Linked DNA regions of Homo sapiens: all the other regions are linked to region 1. The links are contacts of gene promoters, found by promoter capture Hi-C in blood cells and fetal thymus (Javierre and others, 2016). All regions are on one chromosome and are shown on one strand. Each heading gives the region's core, a stretch centred on a gene start or on the middle of the fragment in contact. The rest is flanking DNA. Distances are from core to core; before and after follow the strand shown. Region 1 holds the start of TREM2 (triggering receptor expressed on myeloid cells 2). Region 2 overlaps APOBEC2 (apolipoprotein B mRNA editing enzyme catalytic subunit 2). Region 3 holds the start of TREML4 (triggering receptor expressed on myeloid cells like 4).

The links. Contacts are between HindIII fragments. The CHiCAGO score rates a contact against its expected background, and 5 or more counts as called.
Region 2: a fragment that was not itself captured here is called in contact with the fragment with the promoter of TREM2 in region 1 in 1 of 17 cell types (neutrophils); the score reaches 6.2 in neutrophils.
Region 3: a contact is called between the fragment with the promoter of TREML4 here and the fragment with the promoter of TREM2 in region 1, in 2 of 17 cell types (neutrophils and monocytes). The highest score is 9.3, in neutrophils.

What each region holds. Positions count from the first base shown.
Region 1 is chr6:41,161,661-41,165,579 of GRCh38, reverse strand. It overlaps TREM2 (triggering receptor expressed on myeloid cells 2), which reads left to right and starts at 2,464. Exons shown (of 5, transcript NM_018965.4): 1 at 2,464-2,537. The coding sequence starts at 2,498. The HindIII fragment of the contact is 7,981 bases long and covers 1-2,852 here.
Region 2 is chr6:41,060,502-41,064,420 of GRCh38, reverse strand. It overlaps APOBEC2 (apolipoprotein B mRNA editing enzyme catalytic subunit 2), which reads right to left. Exons shown (of 3, transcript NM_006789.4): 2 at 2,529-3,093; 3 at 1-320. The coding sequence ends at 2,550. Among named protein-coding and RNA genes, the nearest start is that of APOBEC2, 9.3 kb to the right of the region's middle. The HindIII fragment of the contact is 1,506 bases long and covers 1,417-2,922 here.
Region 3 is chr6:41,225,878-41,229,796 of GRCh38, reverse strand. It overlaps TREML4 (triggering receptor expressed on myeloid cells like 4), which reads right to left and starts at 1,448. Exons shown (of 6, transcript NM_198153.3): 1 at 1,307-1,448; 2 at 753-1,083; 3 at 226-276. The coding sequence starts at 1,369. The HindIII fragment of the contact is 15,987 bases long and covers 1-3,919 here.

The DNA.
Region 1 (3,919 bases), core at 1,215-3,714:
CAGGAGAATCGCTTGAACCTGGGAGGCGGAGGTTGCAGTGAGCTGAGATCTCACCATTGCACTCCAGCCTGTGTGACAAGAGCAAAACTCTGTCTCAAAAAAAAAAAAAAAAAAAAAAAAAAAAGATGCTGCTAATGCTGCTAAGGAAATGAGAAAAAAAGTTACAGACTAGAAGAAAATATTTGCAAATCACATATCTGATAAAGGACTGCTATCCAGAATAAAAAGAATTTTCACAGCTCAATAATAATGATAATAATAAACAATTAAAAATGGACAGGACAAAAGTTTTGAACTAATACTTTGCTGAAGAAGGTACAGATGGCAATAAACAACAAAAAGATGTCCAATATCGTTACTCACTAGAAAAATACAAGTTAAAATTGAAGGAGATATCACCTTAAACCTATTAGAAAGGCTTTTTAAAACCTGACAATATTAACTGTTGACAAGGATGTAAAAATGGTACAGCCTCTTTGGAAAAGACTTTGGCAGCTTTTATAGACTTAAACATACACTTACATGTGACCCAGCAGTCCCATTCTTAGGATTTTATCCAAGGGTAATAGAAACATATGTCCACACAAAACATATGTACATGAATGTTTATAGTGGCTTCATTTATAATTGTCCCAAACTGGAAACAACCCAAATATCCATCAGCGGGTGAATGAATACGCTACTTGTGGTTCAACCATAGAATGAAAGATGGTTTAGCAATAAAAAGGAATACATTCTTGAGAAGTGAAACTTCACGCATGCTGAATTTATTCTGATGAGTGAATAAAGACTGACCCAAGAGGCTACATACTATTTAATTCCATGTCTATGACATTTTAGGAAGGGCAGGAAGCTACAGAAACAGATGTCAGCTTAGTAGTTGCCAGGCCCTGGATTGGAGAGAAAGAGACTGGCTAAAATGGGCACAAAGGCTCTCGCTTAAGCTAAATGAAACTTTCTATATTATGGTATTGTGTTACACAGACATGGTGATTGTGGTGGTTGTTATAGAGATGCATGAGTTTGTCAACATTTACACAACTAGACATTTAAAAGGGGTAAATTTTTGTATATGTAAATTATGGGCCAATAAACCTGACTTCTAGAAAAAGACCCTAGAAGAGTACCTACAGAGTGATCTTCAGGCAGCCTCAGACTTCAGCCCCCAGGCCCTTGGGGCAAGGCCGGGCAGTTGGCCCTTTGAGTGGAGGCCTGTCTTCTCCTCACTATGAATTCCCCATCTCCAAGCACATTCCCTGTCCGTAAGTTAGATGCACAGTAAATATGAGTAAATAAATGAATAAAAGAACAAATAAGTGAGTGTTTGCAGGAAACTAAAGTAGACCCTGATAATCTACAGGCTCCTGCAGGCTTCTCCAGCCTCTTCTGCCACTCCCAGCACAACTCCATTTCCCACTCCTAGAATTGACTCAAGCCTCCTCCATCCAATCCCCGACTCACTGGGCCATTTCACACTTTTGTGCCTTTGCACACGTGGGTCCCTGTGCTTGGATCACCATGGGAACCTGTACGTGTAGAAAAACACACCCCTACCCCCAGAACTCTGAGAAATATCCTGTCCTGTCCTGTAGGATAGGATGATCAGGAGTTCAAGCATGTGTGTGCACAAAATAAACACCAGTGTGAGCATGTGTGCACAGGAGACACCCAACAGTTCCAAGAAGGCTAAACTTGGGCAGAAAATTCCAGGTGGGAGAGAAAATTTTCTGTCTTATGGACAGCCCATTTCCCTTTTCCCTTCTAACTAGGATAATGGTAATAGTTAGTATTTGTTGAATGCTGTGTGTCAGGCCCTACTGGAAAGCACTTTACCTGTAGGAACCCATATGGTGCTCCTGATAACCCTTTGCACTATCATTATTCCCACTGTATAGATCAGGGAACAGACACAGGTAGGTTTTGGATGTGTGGTTACACACCCAGAAAGTCAGGAAGTCTGGCTCCAGAGCTGTGTACTTAACTGCTGCCACACTACAGGAATGACAGCCCTGGGGGGATGAACTAAGAGGTGCTGGATGAGGGTCCTGGCCTCTAAAGGCACAGCTGTTCTCCAACTCTTGCAAGGCTGAAACCAGAAGATGGCGGGCATTGCAGCTGGTGGAGGGTCTGAATACAGCTGTGAGGATAGTGATCCCTGGGCTAGGCTCTGCAAGGAAACTGAGCAGTGCAGGGCCTTACCAGCCCCAACCATCTGGGGGCCACCCTGGCTGGCACCAGCAGGAGGGTGGGCTGGCTTCTCAGAGGTCTGGGAGACTCAGCCTCCTTCTGCCAGGGCTGCAGTGGCCGACTCCTCCTCCCCTCTGTCCCCACCCTGCACCGCCTCCAGACCCCAGTCCTGACTATTGCTTAATCCCCAGGAGCCCAGTTCCTGTGGGCAGCGCCTGACATGCCTGATCCTCTCTTTTCTGCAGTTCAAGGGAAAGACGAGATCTTGCACAAGGCACTCTGCTTCTGCCCTTGGCTGGGGAAGGGTGGCATGGAGCCTCTCCGGCTGCTCATCTTACTCTTTGTCACAGGTAGGATCCCCTCCGTGCCCTGTGATGCCTTCTCTCCCTCACTTTGAGCATGTGGTTGGGGCGCGGGTGGTGGGCCCTGGGGTGAATTATGAAGGCGGTGGCAGTCCTCGCATGCCTGAGTGCCCTGTTCTGCACTCCTCTCCTCCCCACCCTGCCCATATTCTTCACACCCTCCTTCCCTCCCCAGTATCAAAACCTACCCTCAGACTCTTTCTGCATGTGGACATGTAAGGGGCTGGTGGACTCTGGTTGCATTGGAAGGGAAGGAGTGCTAACAGTGGCATCCCAGGCACTAGCTGGCAGTTGGGGGAAGCTTTGGGGGGCACTGGCACTGGTAATAGCCTCTGAAATTATAAGCCACTAATTATGAGCCCCTACAGTTATAAAGGAGGAAAGAACCTGAGGATGTTCATCTGCATCTTTGGGGCACTCTCTCCCCTGCTCTGAAGGTCCCCTTGTCCTCAGCTCTTGATGGGAGGTGAGGAGCGTAGAGATTTCCGTTGCTGAGTTGAGGGGAATTGACACACCAAATTTTTGTACACAATTGCTTCTTCCCGCTGAGGAAAGCGCACCTTTTGCTCCCCCAGAGCACTGGACAAACCTGGGCAAGAGGAGAGACGGTGCCAAATGGAGTCTTGTTCCTGCAGCTTCTTAGATGGTGGTCAGGGGGAAGGCGGGGTTCTGAGGCATGGATGGGAGGTGGTCAGATGGGAGAGGGCCACGGCCCATCTGGTCTCTCTAGTTCCAAAAGGCAAGCCACCAACTTCCCAATCCTATCTTTCAAGCCTCTGTCACAGTAATGGTTGAAGATGGCAGGCAAGGGAGGACCAAGAGAGAAGTCAAAGCAGGGGGCTCTGGGGGCTGCCCCAGCAACAGGCTGGTGCTCTAAGCCCATCTCCCCCGCCCTAAGGAGGGTTCCCAAAATAGCAGCCTCATGTCTCCCCCAAAATATCTCCGAGACGGGTCCTTCCTGAAAGGGGAACAAAGCCACAGAAATAGGGAAGCTGGAAGTTAAAGGTCAGGAAAGTCGGTACCAATGTGGGCGGCTGCAGAGCAAGCAAGAGTGGCGGGGCAGGGAGAGCCAGCCCCAGGCCGAGAGGAGAGGTCCCAGTCCCAAATGATGGCAAAGAGATGTGCAGAACAGAACTGGAGGGGGTTTTAAGACCAAGTGCCTCCAGAATAGACCCAGAGAAGGTCAGTTACTTCTCCAAGGAGGCCCAGCAAGAGCAACAGTGAGAAAACCAAACCCAGGTCCCAGGTTTCCTGGTTCCCAATTTCCCACAAACACATGCTGTGCCATCCGCTCCCAACTTGTATAAGAACCTAAGCTCCTTCAGGGCAGGATTTTTGTCTGTTTAGGTCACTGCACAGAGCAAGTGTTC
Region 2 (3,919 bases), core at 920-3,419, 100 kb after region 1:
CGGGTCTGAGGCTGTTTGTGTTAAGCAGCCCCCTTGGGTGAGCAATTAGGACCTTCAGTCCCATAGTTGACTGGAGCCCATGTATGGTTGCATTTCTCTCCTTGCAGGTCACTTTCGTCCTTCCCGAGAGCAGCATTAGAGAGAGAGTCACAGCCTAAATAAACTACAGCATGAGAAGTATATTTCAAGTCCTCTAAGGGCCTTGTCCAGTATGATTGGTTGGTGTCAAATGTTGTCCAGCTCCAAATGGTATTAGGAAGACAGGCATGTCCCAGATGGCTGTACATGTCATTGCTGTCTCTTGGTGGCAGCAGGAATACCTTGGTAAAACAAACAAAGAAAATGTGTTACTGAGAGCTCTGCTGGCCCCGAACAATGACTAGTTTCTTTTTGAACTAAGGTTTCTGTGTGCCCTTCCCAACAAGTCCCTGGATTTCTCCTCCATAGTTTCCTTTGCAGGATTGGGTAAATTTACCAGGATTGACTAAACCAGAAGCCAGTCTTTCGTTCATGTTTTGATGTGGTTTACACAGAAAAAGCCCCAGAAGAGATCTGGTTTAACTCTGGTCTTTTGACTAAATATAGGATTAAATACTATTTTGTCATTAAAAAAAAAAAAAAGAAAGATGAAATAAGTATGTAAAATAAGACACTTTATTTAACAAATGCTCATTTCTCAAGATTATTTTAATTAAGCAGGGTTGTTCTTTTGGGCTTTTAGATTACACTCTTATCTCATGCCAGTTTTTTTTTTTTTAACTTGATATATCTTAACCTTTCCCTTCACAAACATGAGCAATTCAAATAGAAGACAGGGAAGCATGTTAATGGGTCCAGATAATACAGTTATATTTGAAATCACTGAAAAAAAAAAAAAAAAAAAAAAGCTCTAAGGACTTGCTAGTTAGGCACCTGGGCCCTTGACTCTGAAAGATGTCTGAAAGGAAAATATACTGGGGTTAAATTTTAAGCTGCCGGTTAGTCTGTAGAATCTATGTTGGGTTTATAATTACAGTGATAGTACATACACTAACAAAATCTTCAAGGAATTCTAAAAGTTAAATTTTATATTCTCAGAGGGCACCCTCAGAAATCTGTTTTGACTACTGTTCACCACTATAAAGTGTCTTATTTTATGTGAGCAGAGTACCACACAGTATACCCTATCATAGGCTCACTGACTTCAGTGACTGGGTCCTGCTTTTTAAAAGAAATGGCTGAAAGTTGTATCTTCATGGGTTGGCAAATGCTCAGCTTGAGAATGATCAGGTGCCCATGTGCATGTCTAATAGAAAACACCTGCCAACATCAAGCTCTGGAACATTGATATTTCCTAAACGTGTCTATGAAGCGACATCTTCTCTTAAGGGTGTTAGGAGTGAGAGAGACCAAAAGTAAATTATCTTCATGGAAGCTTGTTGTTTTCATGTTTTAGTAATATGTGAGTTGTTGCAGGATTAAAGTTGGGTAAGAGTGTCGTGAGTACCCCTCCTCTATTACTGGAAGATTTTGATCAGTAACTGGGGCCTTGCAAAGGGGGCTTCGTCATAGCATTTCTGTAGGCGCAAACTCAATCAGACTAAATGTAAAAAAGATAGTAAAGGATCCTTTAGCCCTCTTTCCTGAGGGTAATTAGCCTGTTTCTGTTAGAGTTTAATTTACCCTCAGCAAGAGGCCAAATTGGCCTTAATTGTGTCCTAATTATTTGCTTAAATAGCTAATCTTTCTCCTATCACCTCTTGATATCTGTAAGAGGTTACTTCTGAGCTGCTGCCTACTTTACAAATGTCTTTTTAACTCTTTAAATGTTCCTGCATGGACTAGCTTGTTGCTATATTATCCCCATTCCTGCATTCGACATCCTCCATGAATTCTACTGAGGTCTTCTCAACATAAGGAAAATGTTCCCGTATTGTATTTTCACACAGCAATTGTTGGTCTCCTTCAAAGTGTAGCCATTTGTTTGAAAACATGAAAGCAGGTCTGGCTTAAAACAAGTTAAATACCAGTCCATTTGGGGAATTTCAAAATTACCATAAGTGAAAAAATTGTCCCTGAAGGACTAAAAAACATTCATTAGAGAAAAATGGAATGGTAAGATTGCCAGTGGATATGGGAGTGAGGCATCTAGAAGATGTCTGGAATTAGTAATCCCTGACATGTACACAGGGGCATACTCAGAGGATTTCAGTATCTTCTCTGCTGTGGTTCAGTAGCAGGTGCTTGCACCATCTAAATCTTACCAAAGAACGTCATCTTGCCTCATGAAAGTTTTAGGATTCCTGTCAACCTTGAGTATTCTAAGTTAGGGGAAAGTTACTTTGATACAAAAGTGTGGGAGGGAAAAGTTTAGAGAGGGATTCAGAGGAAAGAGACATGTTCTAAACTATTTTTGCAACCAGTCAAAAGCAGAGAAATGAAACCCTTCCAAAGGAAAATCAGACATATCACAGATTCTACCTGACCTCACACCTTCTACTGGAGTTAACATAATAAAGTGTTGGTGCCATGGCACCAGGAAAACTCACGTGAGGCAAAGCCCAGTTGCCCTACTTCAGGATGTCTGCCAACTTCTCCTCGTAGTATAGGAAGTTCTCCTGAATGTCCTCCCAGGGCTGAAAGGCCTTGGATTCACCCTCTTCTTGCTCCACAAAATTCTGCCAGACATATTCGAAGTCCTGGGGCTTCATGATGCGCAGTTTACAGCCAGCCTCCTTCAGCTTCTTCAGAGCAGCCTGGATCTCCGGCTCCTCCCACATGAAGAGTCGACCCACCAGAATGAGCAGACGCAGGTTCTTGGTCTTGCTAAGGGTTTTGATAATGCGGTCAGCACACGCTGCACAGGGGCTGGAGGACACATACCAGGTGACATTGTACCGCAGGGCTGGGTCGAAGGCTGGCAGGATGGTGTTGAAGAAAGCTTCCTCTGCATGGGCAGCCGCATGCTCATCCTCTAGGTATCCCCGAGATGCCTGCACTTGGCCCCCCTTGCCCTGTGCTTCAACCACATAGCAGAGGAAGGTCTTGTTCCTCCCGGAACTGTACTCCACATTCCGGAACTGGAATTTAAAGAAGTTGGCAGGCAGCCGTTCTCTGTAGGTCAAGGAGACAAAAGGACAGGAAAGAATGATAAGTTCTTGTTTCTAGAACCAGCCTAGAGTAGGTAGCTCTTCCAGGTCAGTACTTCAGAAATGCATTCACTCTTACTATAAATAGGTCTTGTCTGTGGTAACATCAGTGACAAAAAAAAAAAAAAAAAAAAAAGCATTAAAAAATCCAGAAGGGTTTATCTGAAGGAGAGGAGAATTTGGACTGAGGTGTGCATTTTGGTCACCCTACTAGGACATTGTCTCCACCATCACTCTTCCAGCACAACATACCCCTACATTTCTAAATCACTGAATCTTTAACCTGCCTATACCTTAGAATCACCTAGAAGACTGAGAATGTCAGTGCCTGGGCCTCATGCCAAACCAATTAAATCAGAACATGTGGAGAGGTGGTCCAAGCATCAGTATTTTTAAAAAGCTCTCTGGATGATTCCAATAAGTGGCCAGGTAAGTAGCAAGCATATAAAATTTCTCATGACAGAGCAAAACAAAGATTTTGCAGAGCATTTTATGCTTTTTTCTCTTCCTTGTAACTCATGTAAATTGCATCTTGGCATGAAATGGCCTAAAACTTGCAATAACATGCTCTCCTTCTCAAGTGACTACTTCTCAAGTCTGTTTACTTTCAGGTAAAGGGATTGTCACATGCTAAGTGTCCAAGAATTTTTATCTGTGAGGACAGACTACTCAAGGGTATCTTGGGATAGTTAAGCCTGTATTTAGTATTGAGTCACCTCCAAATCTTAAAGGACTTGGTCTCTGCCCTCCAGATGCTTATAATTTAGCAGCTAGATTGCAGCTGGACAGAG
Region 3 (3,919 bases), core at 199-2,698, 65 kb before region 1:
ACCCTCCCATCATCGTGAGAACATGGCGATCTTCTGATCACATCAGATAGTGCATGTTTCTCTCCCTAAGAGACAGTGGGCCCTGAAGGTAGCTTCCCACAAGCCCAGGCCCCAAGAGATCAGTCCTCAGAGGCAGGCCTCCCTGGTTTCCCCTTCCCTGAATCTGAGGCTCCCAAGCTGCCTGGTGACCCTTCTAATCTTCCCCCACCGAGGCCTCCAACCTACCTGTGCTTGTTGGGAGCCAGGGAAGAGTCCACATAGGAGACGTGGTTGGGGCTAAAGAGAAAAGACAGCAGACAATGACTCTCCAGGGGCCCAGAAGAGAGTAGGGTCTACCCCATACATAAGAGGAGGTAGGGGCCCAGAGCCAGACCCTCAGGATGTCTTAAGCCAGGAGTGGTCTGTGCCTAAGATCTGCATGACAGAGTTGTTGGTGTGTGTGTGTTAGTGTGTGTGTGAAAAGAAGAGTTGTGGGTGTGCCTGTGTAAGACAAAGAGAGACGCAGAGTGACAGACAGACTGTGTCTCTGTCCAGGGACCTCTGAGGGTACCTTCCCAACAATTGAGGCCAGGATGTACCGGGTGGAGGAGAGGTGAGAGTCCATGTTTGGGGACAGGATCTTTGCTCCCCTTGGACCACAGCAGAATACCTGGCAGGATGGGGGATGATAGAGGCATGGGAGGGGGTGCATGACATTTCCTTCAGGTCCCTGGGGGGTGGCACAGAGGTATTTCCTCAAGAAAAGAGCTCACCTGGAGACACCACCAGGCTGATATTTCTAAGAACAGTGATGATGTTTTCGGAAGCGTTGTAGATTCCACACCAGTAGAATCCCGAGTCATTCTGTGTCAGCTGAATCATGGTGATGTTGAAGAAGCCAGCATTGGGCTTGTCCCAGATTGTGTAATGAGACTTCTGAACTGCTGTCCAGGGCTTGGAGCTGGTGACAAGTAAGGTACACCGACTTGGAGATGTCTGCTGACACCAGGATTTGGGCTGATAGGGCCCTCTCTTGGGTGAGTACTGGCATTGCAGGAGGAGGGTCTGTCCTGGGTGTTTGTGAAGTTCTTCAGGCACAGCACCCTTTACCCAGGAACCGGCAGAAAGAAACCCAGGTCAGAGCTCTGAAGGGACCCAACCTCCCCCATCACAGGCTGGGGAAGGGGAGGGGGAACTAGTTCTGATGCCCACACATGGAAGAGGGCCCCTAAATTCTGTCCTATGGTCACACAGCCATGCTGCTCCCTGCCCCACTCATTCTTCATCCCACTCCTTACACCCCCTGCACTCTTTCCCTCCATGTCACCTGAGGCCAGGAGCAGCAGCAGCACAGGTGGAAGCAGCAGGTGTGGACCCCACCCCAGGCCATTCCAGCCCAGATCTGTTTCTGACAGCGGAGGAGAGGAGAAAAAAGGGAGCCCTCTCAGGAGGAGTCAGACGCTGGGTCTGATTCTGCCCCAGGTTCCCAGTGTCTCTCAGCTGGTAAAATTGAGGAAGTCAATGTCTTGCTGGGGAAATGGTCGGCCTGGGAGGGCGGGCTCTGCAGACCAGGGGAGGAGGGGCAGCCAGGCCTTGAAAGGGGCCACCAGCTACAGGGTCTGTCTCTGGGCCTGGGCACCTCAGCCCTGCTGTGTTGCTCTGCCGCCTTTCACTGAACTTCTCCCCATGTCTGCTGCTTTATGCCTTCCAGCCAGTCATACTGCTCCTCTATTGCTAGGGGCAGCTCTCAGCATGGCCAAGAATAAAGCTGGTGAATAAAGCTGGGGTCATCCCTCTTTCCTTCTCTCTGTGCACTTCCTATAGGTGGTCAGGGCCCTTGGAGGCACGACCAGACCCCTGAATCCTTCTGGTCTAGCCATGGTGGGTTGATGATGAGTTTTGACCCTGAGACATTTTGTAGAGGGCAGATTTTAATCCCAGGAATTACAAGATGTTCCCTGGAAATGGTGGGGCCAGGAAAGCAGGGAGGAAAGAGAGTGCTGGTCAGGGAAAGTTGGAGGGGAAGGCAGGTAGGAGTGGATCAGTTATGGTAGCTTGGGATCATCTCAATCAGTGCTTGTTGGATGAATACATCAGTGGATGAAAGAACAACGCGTGTGTAAAATGTACAGAAAAAGAAAATGGCCGAAGTGAGAACTATCTAGCAACAAAACCAAGTGGTACTGGATTACTACCCAATGTATATATTAAATCTCTAGGAGTCCATGCTGATGTAAGTAAATGACTGAATAAAGAACTGGGGGGGGGAATAGACAAATATCCCATGCATAAGGATTCTGCTGTGTTCAGAATGTTGTTCCCCCATCTCATATATTCAAACTTAATTTCCATGTGATAGCGTTAAGAGGTGGGATCTTGTGGGAAAATCTTAAGTCATGAGGGCGTCATCCTCAAGAATGCAATTAATGCCCTTATACCAGAGATTGCAGGAAGCAGATTTGCGCTGTCTGCCATATGAGGACAGTGTTCATGCCTTCAGTCAACTGAGGTTACTGCAAGAAAGCACCACCTTGGAAGCAGAGAGCAGCCCTCAGCAGATACCACATCCACTGACACCTTGATCTTTGACTTCCCAGACTCCAGAACTTTGAGAAAGAGATTTCTATTATTTAGAAAGTCTCCAGTCTAAGGCATCTTCTCATAGCAGCCTGAAGGGACTGAGAGAGATTGCAAACAATTCTTATAGGTATTCTGCCCTCAAGGCAGAAGCATAAATTCCCACGGCTTAAGCATGGGCTGTGCAGGTGACTTTCCTCCAGAGGATAGCATGGGAAGGAAGAGAAGAGTAACTGTACAGTGGAGAAACCTGACACTTACTGTGGCAGCCAGGCAACCAAAGTGCAGACCCACAGGGATAACTCAGGTTGTTAGAATGTGTCATTGACTTGATGTGATGACAGGGCAATTAGCTGTGCAGTCTCCTTCCCCAAAGCCGCTGGCCCCAGGAGAAAAACATCAAACAAATTCCACATGAGGGACATTCTACAAAATACCTGAGCAGCGTTCCTCAAAACTGTCAAGGCCATCAAAACTAAGAAATAATTCTCAGAAACTGCTATGAATAAGAGGAGCCTAAGCAGACATGAAGACTAAAAGCAATGTGGCTTCCTAGGTGGGATCCTGGAGCACAGAAAGTACATGAGGTAAAAGCCAGGGTAATCTGAATGAAGTAAGGACTTCAATTAATAAAATCTACCACAGAAACAGAGTAGAATGGCATTACCAGAGGCTGGGAATTGGACAAACTGGGTAGGTATTGTTGAAGAAACACAATATGTTAGACAGAAAAAATAAGTTCAAGAGATCTATTGCACAGTATGGTGAGTGCAGTTCATAACTATGAATTGTACAATTGAAAATGACAGAAAATAGATTTTAAATGTTCTCACCACAAAACAAGTAAGTATATGTGGTATTGCTTGATTTAGTAATTTCACAGTTAATACACACATCAAACTATCCTACCACGCATTATAAATATATGAGTTCTACTCATCAATTTTGTAAAATTATAGTAATGTATCAATATCAACTCATTAATTGTGAGAAATGTAGCATACTATTGGACTATATTAATAATAGAAGACATTGAACATAGCACATCAGGGAAGTATGCAATACCTACACAACTCTTCTGTGAATCTGAAAGCATTCTAAGTGTAAAAGATTAGTTTTAATATGTATAGAAACGATTTACACAAAGCATATGAATAATCACTTGATACATAACAAACAGCGTGTACATAACAAACAGCAAAGTTTTAAGAAATCTTAGTACGGCTAGGTGTAAAGCACCTACTAACACTTGATGGTAATAAGAGTCATTTTCTTAAACACACTGAAGTTTCTAAGAAAAGTATGATAAATTCTGGAAGAGGAAAATAGGAATTTATTCTCTGCATCTGTATCATTTGATGCC